Regions from separate parts of the Homo sapiens genome. Here region 2 is linked to region 1. The links are contacts of gene promoters, found by promoter capture Hi-C in blood cells and fetal thymus (Javierre and others, 2016). All regions are on one chromosome and are shown on one strand. Each heading gives the region's core, a stretch centred on a gene start or on the middle of the fragment in contact. The rest is flanking DNA. Distances are from core to core; before and after follow the strand shown.

Region 1 (4,602 bases), core at 828-3,327:
TAATCCCAGCACTTTGGGAGGCCAAGGCGGGCAGATCACTTGAGGTCAGGAGTTCGAGACCAGCCTGGCCAACATGGTGAAACCCTGTGTCTACCAAAAATATAGAAATTAGCCGGGCGTGGTGGCACGTGCCTGTCATCCCAGCTACTTGGGAGGCTGAGACAGAAAAATCACTTGAACCTGGGAGGGTGAGGTTGCGGTGAGCCAAGATCGTGCCACTGCACTCCATCCTGGGTGACAAAGCAAGACTCCATCTCAAGAAAAAAAAAAAAAAAACTACGTTTTTACTGTGTCAGAGTATCGTAGATATCATTTAGCCTGGCCTGCCTCATTTTAAAGATGGAAAGACATGGTGAAAAACATCTCTCAAGTATTTGGTATAACCAGTCCTTAGGGAATGCCATGAGAAACCTTGCCTATTATAATATCAGTAATGGAATGCCAAAAAACACAACCTCTGTTGTCCACATTCTAAGTCTTTGAGGAGCAAAGGATGTGCAGGATTAAGAAAATAGGATATTTTGAAGTTTCTGCAATGTGAAAGACTATGAGGACTAAACGAAGTGATTAAGTGAATCAATGTATATGAAAAGTGCTTTGTGGGCAAGAAAGTACAATACAGCTATTAGTAATTGCTTTAATTTCCCATGGCAGGGGGGCGTCTGCTTTGCTCTGAAGCATCATAGCTGCTCCTGTCTCTTTAGAAGCCTGATCTTGACCACTGACCCAGCCCACTGTTGCCAAGCAGTAAACTTACAGCCAGACTCAGCCACACCAGAATGGCCCAAATCGCTGAGACTGCATAGCCCCAAAGTCAATCCACAACCCAGAGGGATTGAAGTGGCACAATTCAAGGCGTTAGGAAGCAAAGATATAAACCTGCTGACTCATTTCCTTTGGAGACTCCTTTCCTCAGACAGGCTTCATCTCCACCCATGAAGGAACTCATCGAACACTTACACTAACTGACAGGGACTGAGGTTTGGAACCCATTATCGAAAACCTCCCGGGAGATGTAGGGGATGAAAAAGATGGTAACAGAACCCACGGTGTTGTGGAAACATCCCGAGCTGCAAGTGTGAAGGCCTGATTTGATCTCAGCGGTGCTACTTACAAGCTGTGTGCCTTTGGACACCAGATCACCTCTGTGAGTTCTGCTCCTCATCTACAGAATGAGGGGGCTGGGCTGAAATATGTCTAAGAGCCCCCAGCTCTGAGGATCTGGTTACAAGTCTCTGGAATAGCCTGGCATGTTGGTTTTTAGTATGATATGCTTAAATGAAGCCATAAGAAAAAGTGTACAGCATATGAGTAAGAAACTACAAGCAGCTATTACAATTTATAAGTCCAAGAATATGCATCTGAAATGTGTAACTTGTTTAAAGTTATGCTGAAACCCAGAAAACTGAAGGGAGAATAATTTCCGCTTAGAAGAATGCAGTTGCAAGTAGATGAACAGCGATCTGATGCTTAAAAATGCCAAAAAGAAGGGCAGTCCATATGCCTAAATCTCAGCCTTACAACGTCAGCCAGGGAGAAGAGCCAGCCAGACCCACCAATACTTCTCAACTTTCCCCAGTTTGCGGGTACCACACCCTTTCTGAAACTAGCATTGCAAAATTCATTCTGAGTTCCAAAGTAGGCCTGAAAATGTCCTCAGAAGTATTTTCTCCTCCGTGAATCACGGTTGCACCCCTCTACCACCAAAACCTCCGAGCCACGTGACTTCTTCATATTCTTACCTTGTATGGTTAAGTGATTTTACTCCCTCTGCAGTGTTCCTGGTGCTCAAAGGGTTGGGAGCTGGAAATACTGCCAACATGGGGGATGAGAGGCGACAGTACTCAACCCAACAGCCCGTCTTTGAAAACAGCCCCAAAATGGACCTAAGTCCATTTTGTTCACCATCTCAAATCAGCTCAAATAACGATATTTATGAATTTCCCTGAAAAAAGGAAGTCACCAGCCCTGCTACCCCACCTTGCTTACCTGGAGTCACAGTTATCCTGGAAAATGCGTGGAAAAGGAACAGGCAAGCGAGGAGCACAAAGACCTGGATGTGGAGGCGACCGTGTCTGGGCAGAAGCAGCGGTGGCTCACCTGGGCAGCACCGCCACGCCCACTGCCAGCCCAGCTCCACGCCCCGCCCCGCCCCGCCTCGGCGGCACTCCTCTCCTACTCAAGCCTCTTGGCAGCTTGTCCACAATTGAAAGAAATGATTCAGGCTGAAGTTACTGTTGTCTGCACAGCTTCCAAAAGGCCTCCAACATGTTCGGGCAGGAAGGGGCTGTGAGTTACATGCATACGTACAGACATGCGTACGGCAATCCTCTCGGCCCACGCAGGACCGGAAGGTGAAATATTCGATGAAATAAAAGTAATGTGTGATGATAGTAACACTACAAATTTCTCAGACACGTTGGTGGCACAAAAAGTACTCTGATCTCCATTCTTTTTGTGTAAACTGCAGCAGCTCATTCTGCTAGATGCCAAGAGAGGTAGCTGCCCATTAAACAGAAAGACAATCAAAAAAGAAGGAATGGATATATGTATAAACACAGTGCCTACCTAAAAATTAGGTACTATTAGCAAAATATTTACTACCAAATTGGTAGGAGATATTGTTTAATGGGTGGCGCAGGAAGTTTCTTTTTAAAATCCTGTGATTAGGATTACTCAGGCCTGGCGCGGTGGCTCACGCCTGTAATCCCAGCATTTGGGGAGGTTGACGTGAGCGGATTGCTTGAGCCCAGGAGTTTGAGACCAACCTGGGCAACATGGTGAGACCCCATCTCTACAAAAAATGTAAAACAATAGCCTAGTGTGGTGATGCATGCCTGTGGTCCCAGTTACTTGGAAAGCTGAGACGAGAGGATCACTTGAGCCTGGGAGGTCAAAGCTGCAGTGAGCCGTGAGCTAACCACTGTACTTCAGCCTGGGTGACAGAGCAAAAGAAACAAAAAGAAAAAGGAGTACGCAGCTCTGCTCTGAAATCTCTTCGTGGAGCCTGTTCTTGTCCTCCTGTCTTCCCACAGCTTCTTCATTTGGCGGGACCTACTCCCTTCCAGCCGAATCAGTCTCAGGAAAGGACCTGAAACGGAGCTGGTTGCTTCTCTGCTGTGCTTATCTAGAATTCCCTATTGTACATTTACTACATTGTTTCATAATAATCTCTTACATTCTCCTATATGTGACTACAACAATGTTAAAGGTAAGTGCCAAACTTCATTCATTTTTATAACACCAAAGCTTGGTACAGACCTGATGTACAGTATGCAGTCAATAAGTGCTTGTTGAGTAATGAATAAGAGCAACTCGCTATATTAACTGACTAAACTAAGATTGATAACAGCTTCCCCTCCCCCATGTCCTGGGTATTTTAATGTTAACCAGAATCAAAGTCATAAACTAAGTGAACTCCAAAAACAGAATTTTAGGCATCAGTGGAGCAAGTGGAGGGAAGGTCATAGGTGAGGAGGTGTGGAAGGATGCTTCTTAAAAATTCTATTATCCAGCTGTAGGAGGGAAAATGAGAATTTGGGAGCAGAGTCATAAATTTGCAAACTAAGTCTAACCACTCATTGCTTGAGAAATCCTGAGCAAATTGCTTAATCCCTTTATCTTCAGATTCCTCATCTGTAAAATGAGATCTATATATAGTTCTCATTTGTCAATAAGATCGATAAAATGAGATATAGACAGAGATGGATGAAGAGACAATTCTTACATACTTTCTGACACATAGCATGTGCTTCCTAATGATGGCAATTAGTACCACTTTGCCCATTGGTTAGGTAGGCTCGGGGAATAGTGGACAAAAGACTGGAGCATGTTATTGACATTGAATTCACCACATTTATTGAATACCTGCTTCGTGCTTGCTACTGTGGTCTACAGATTTCAAGCGACTTGCATTTAAATGGTAGAGCCTCTCTATTCTCCTTTTTGAAGTTTTAATTCCCTCTAAAACACTCCTGTTCAGTGCTTGCTCAACCGGGGCAGAAACATTTCCAATGACAGGAATTCAACAATACCCAAGGAAGTTCTAGCAAAGTGAAATGCCTTTGGGTGATTCTAACTGGGTGAAAATTAGAGGCACCATTCGACTGGGGCTATAAGACATGTTCCCTCTCCCCAAAGGGTACAGTAGGAAGACAAGAAACAAAAGAAAGTATCTGGAGGCATGTAATAAGGGACTTAAGAGAGGTGCAAATGACAAAAGTAGTTCAGAGATGGGTGTGACCTTTTCAGTCTGGCTATGACTGGGGAAGGATCATGGAGGCAGCATCATTGGACATCAGGAGACCATTTAAGCCTGAGAACGGAGGTCCAGAGCTGGGATGATACAAGGTATATTGGACAGATATGTTAACAAAAGATTAAACAGAACATTTCCTGTCAAAAGCTTTCACTTGTTGAAGTATCTCTGGAGGTCAGACCCTGTACGTGAATGTTCTCACCCTCTCATTGAACCCAAGTAAGGCAAGGACTCACAAGTCTCAGGTGTAACATCATTGACAAAACACACTGTTGATTTAGGCAAAATTGCAGGAAAAAAAAAAGTGGTTCCCATTCAGTGGAAAGAGTATTAAAACTGTGATT
Region 2 (4,602 bases), core at 1,292-3,791, 830 kb after region 1:
GGCCAAGGCAGATGGATCACTTGAGGTCAGGAGTTTGAGACCAGCTTGGCCAACGTGACAAAACCCCGTCTCTACTGAAAACACAAAAATTAGCCGGCTGTGGTGGTGCAAGTCTGTAATCCCAGCTACTTGGGAGGCCAAGGCAGGAGAACTGCATGAACCCAAGGAGGTGTAGGTTGCAGTGGGCTGAGATTGTGCCATTGCACTCCAGCCTGGGCAAGAGCGCAAGACTCCATCTAAAAAATAAATAACTAAACAAATAATACACTGTTAAGACTGACATCAAGGCTATCTCTGGGAATGCATTAATAGGTAAAACTCTGATATTTACCCAATAAAGTCATTGAATGCTTACACTGTTCATCTTGCTATGGTAGACACTTTAAAGGATTGAGTAAGAAAAAAAAACTATCCTTTCCATTTATAAGCGTATTTTTTTCTCATAAGGAAAGATATGATGTTTGGGTAATATGGGGTTTAAATTGCTTGTTGTTTTATTGAGGGTTGAGGGAGGTCTTATAATGTCTGGAAACGAATTGAATCAGCTAATGAATCAACGGTCATTATTGTTTTAAATCCCCATTTGCCAATTCTGAGATATTAAAATAGGGAATGCAGGGAACATTACAAACTGCCATTTGGTTATTTAATGTGATTTCTGGGGCACCAGGAAAGCTTCTTTGAGCAACAAACTCTCTCTCTTCCTTGTTTACTATTCCTTAAAAGTGAATAATATCCCTATTCTCTAATTTAAGTGCATGAGGCCTTTGCTTTCAGACTCTGCCTCTTTCAAAATGGTAGAGTTAACAAGTTGAGCTGATAGTTGTTGACAACCACTTACGCTTGGGATGAGTTGGTTTCAAATTTTGTCTTGAAAAGGATTTTGTTTGGGAAACAGCTTAAGATCCAAAATATGGGATGGAGACTACAATAAAGAGTAGAGAGGGGACTCCAGAGAAAACTCTGTCTCCCATCACAATTTGGGTTAGGATCAGCATTGTAGAAAACACTACCAACAAATCTGGAAAAGCAGGTAAATCTGTAGTCTTTCTGCAACAACATGGAACAACATGACATTCTATGAGATGACTATATAAATAGGGAAGAAAGTGAATTAATCTCCAGGAGAAATATCTAGACACTCTATTTTTATTTTTTGATACAGAGTTTCGCTCTTATTGCCCATGCTGGAGTGCAATGGCATGATCTCAGCTCACTGCAACCTTCGCCTCCCAGGTTCAAGTGCCTCTCCTCCCTCAGCCTCTTGAGTAGCTGGGATTATAGGCATGCACTACCATGCCCAGCTAATTTTTTGTATTTAGTAGAGACGGGGTTTCACCATGTTAGGCTGGTCTCGAACTCCTGACCTCAGGTGATCCACCCACCTCAGCCTCCCACAGTGCTGGGATTACAGTTGTGCACCACTGCTCCTGGTCCTCTCTCTCTCTCTCTCTCTCTCTCTCTCTCTCTATATATATATATATATATATATATATATATATATATGTATTTTTTTTTTTTTTTAGAGACAGGGTCTCTGTATCTTGTCACCCAGGTTGGAGTACAGTGGTGCAATCATAGCTCACTGCAGCCTTGAAGTGTGGGTTCAAGTAATGCTCCTGCTTCAGCCTCCCGAGTAGCTGGGACTGCAGATGCTCACTACCACATCCTGCTAATTTATGTTTATTTTTTGTAGAGAAGGAGTGGCACTACTGTTGCGCAGGCTGGTCTTGAACTCCTGGCCTCAAGTGATCCTCTTTGCCTCCGCCTCCCCATAGACCACTCTAGAGAACATTGTACTCAGATGGAACTTGAACCATCCAGAATAAATCAGGCCTGGGAAAGAGAGAAGAGAGGCAGCAGAGAGAACTGTCTGAGAAGAGTATGTTGGCAGCCCAGCTGCCAAAAAGCAGTCCAGATGGTCCCAACTTAACTGAAAATGGAAATTTTCCCTGACCCTTTCATGGGCCTTGTGACAAGGATGCCTCATTTACTCAGCCTGCAGCTTTCAACCCCTCGTGGGAAGAGGAGCACACAGGTGAGTGGGTGCAGGAGCTGGAGTTAATGCTTTCAGGCGCTGGCAGGTGCAAAACTCCATGCAGGCCCCACGGCAGCATCTTGCAGGGGGTGGTACCCATGACCCTTGAAGCCCCAGAGGGCATGTATTACAGGCAGCGCTTTGAGCTTGGCTGTCCACAGACGGCTTAAGTGTTTAACAGCTCAGTGGACCCTCTGCCTTTTCACGAGGGCAGAGGGTCACTGTGACAGCTTTCTGTACCCCAAGCTGTTGTCTGGTGTCCAGGAAAAATCAGGTCATACGAATGAATTGAAGGATAGTAAACATGGGGGATTTTATTGCCAGTGGAAGTGGTTCTTAGCAGGAAGGGGAGCTGGAAAGAGGATGGAGTGGGAAGGTAATCTTCCCCTGAAGTCTGGCCATTTGTGTTTGTGGCTAGACTCTTTGAAATTCCACCGTCAAGCCATCCCTCTGAAGTCAAACTGCTTCTCTCCAACATTCATCAGCTTCTTCTCTTCTCTCCTTCCCTGCTTCTCTGCCCTCTGCCAGTGGAGCCTGGGGTTTTTATGGGTACAGGATGGGGGGCGGGCCAGGGGTGGTTTTGGAAGAGGCAACATTGGAGCAGGAAATTGGGGATGTAAAGTTCTCACTTTGGGCCATGGTTCCAGGTTTGAAGGTGGGGCTCTCACCAGGGACCCCACCCTTTTCTGCCTAGAATTTCTCTGCCTCCTGTCTCTATCATTACCATGGCTTGAGTTAGGATTTTTTGACTTTACAATGGGTTTGTTGGGATAGTAAATGCATTTTCAACTTACGATATTTTTGACTAAGGCTGAGTTTATCTGGATATAGCCCTATGGCTAAGTCAGGGAGCATCTGCGTTAAATGGGTGAGGCTGATTGTTGGGAACCCACACCCTGTATCAGGTGAGCATGCATTTTACTAGACTTGGCCACTTCTTACATGTGGAAGATGTGAGAAAGTCTACATCACCCAGTGACTTTCATTCTCCAATTTTGTTTTTTTTGAGATGGGGTCTCACTTTTTCACCCAGGTTGCAGTGCCGTGGTGCAATCTCGGCTCACTTCAACCTTTGCGTCCGAGGCCCAAGCAATCCTTCCATCTCAGCCTCCTGAGTAGTTGGGACTACAGGTACCCACCATCATGGCCAGCTAATTTGTTATATTTTTGGTACAGACTGGGTTTCTCCATGTTGCCCAGGCTGGTCTCGAACTCCTGAGCTAGGAGATTTACCTGCCTCAGCCTCCCAAAATGGCGGGATTACAGGTGTGAGCCACCATGCCAGCCCCAAACTTACTTTTCTGTAAAATAGTTTGGGACTGAACACAGAGATTCTTAATCACCTTGTTTCTTTCAGATGTGGGGACTCAGTGGAATGTACCCATCCAGGCAAGCAGTGGTTTTGCCTGTACCTGGTGCCTGATCCCTAGTCGGGAGCAGTGTCCCTGCTTTCCCTAAGGGAGGACCCGTTCCAAAACCTTTCATTTGCACAGCCGTCAGTTACAACCTTCTATGAAATTGTTCTCAGGACTTAAGTCTTGTAAAACAGCCCAAACTCCCTTAAATTCTTTCTTGAAAGGGCCTGTATTATGTGAGGAAGTGCTAACCCCACCCTTGGGCCTGGTTCCTGCTGGGCAGTTTAGAAAGAAAGCTGAACAGTGAGCTTTCCCGGGCCATTATTCAGCTCTGAAAGGTAATCAAAGGGAATACCTTTCCTTCTATTATCCTATTGCTGAGTTTTACGGAGTTTTATGGAGGACTGCCTCTGAATACAGACGTGTTCAAAGAAGCCAAGAACCTAATATAAACAAGAATTTCCAAACAGTGCTTGTTCAGATGATCTTATTCAGATGGCTTAGCACTGCCAGGTTCCTAAAGGTCAAGGAGCCGTCACCACTGGGGCCTCCAGAGGACTGAATTCACCTCCACAACTGAATCTCCTGCCTGCCAGATGCCCAAATAGGCCATGGGGGCAGGTCACTTGCTTTACATTTCATATAAATGGGATCATACGGTGTGTACTCTTTTGCATGTGGCTTTTTTGCTCAAGCTCATTTTATGAGAATTCATCATATTGTTGCATGAAGCTATAGTTGTTCATTTCAATTGCTGTATGGTTTTCCATTATAGAAATAGACCACTATTTATTTATTCCTTCTACTCACATGATATTTGGGCTATTTCCAGTTTGGAGCATCTATTGGTTTCCTAGTGTTGTTGTAACAAAGGAGCATACATTTAGTGGCTTAAAATAACACACATTTGTTATCTTATAGTTCTAGAGGTCAGAAGTCCAAAATGGGTCTGCAGGACTATTTTACTTTTGGAGGCTTTAGAAGGGAATCCAATTCCTTGCCTTTTGAAGCTTCTAGAGGCCACATATATTCCTTGGTTCATGGTCCCTTTTTCCATCTTCAAAGCCAAGAACATAGTATTGATAGATGCAGGAGGAAAATAAGGGGGAAGGTACCCAGAGAACCTCCCACTGGCCTGCGCACTGGGAGGATGAGGTGCAGCCTTGGGAAGTTTGTGCCATTTGCAGCGGGGAGGAGCCTAGCCTCTCC

What was found. The method cuts DNA at HindIII sites, captures the fragments that hold promoters and counts their contacts. A CHiCAGO score of 5 or more calls a contact.
Region 2: a contact is called between a fragment that was not itself captured here and the fragment with the promoter of SERPINB5 in region 1, in 3 of 17 cell types (total CD8 T cells, activated CD4 T cells and M2 macrophages). The highest score is 6.0, in total CD8 T cells.

Annotation. Positions count from the first base shown.
Region 1 is chr18:63,474,433-63,479,034 of GRCh38, reverse strand. SERPINB5 (serpin family B member 5) reads right to left here and starts at 2,077. Exons shown (of 7, transcript NM_002639.5): 1 at 1,990-2,077. RefSeq lists an enhancer at 2,129-3,328. The HindIII fragment of the contact is 5,766 bases long and covers 1-3,251 here.
Region 2 is chr18:62,642,474-62,647,075 of GRCh38, reverse strand. No RefSeq gene overlaps it. Among named protein-coding and RNA genes, the nearest start is that of PHLPP1, 71 kb to the left of the region's middle. The HindIII fragment of the contact is 3,728 bases long and covers 678-4,405 here.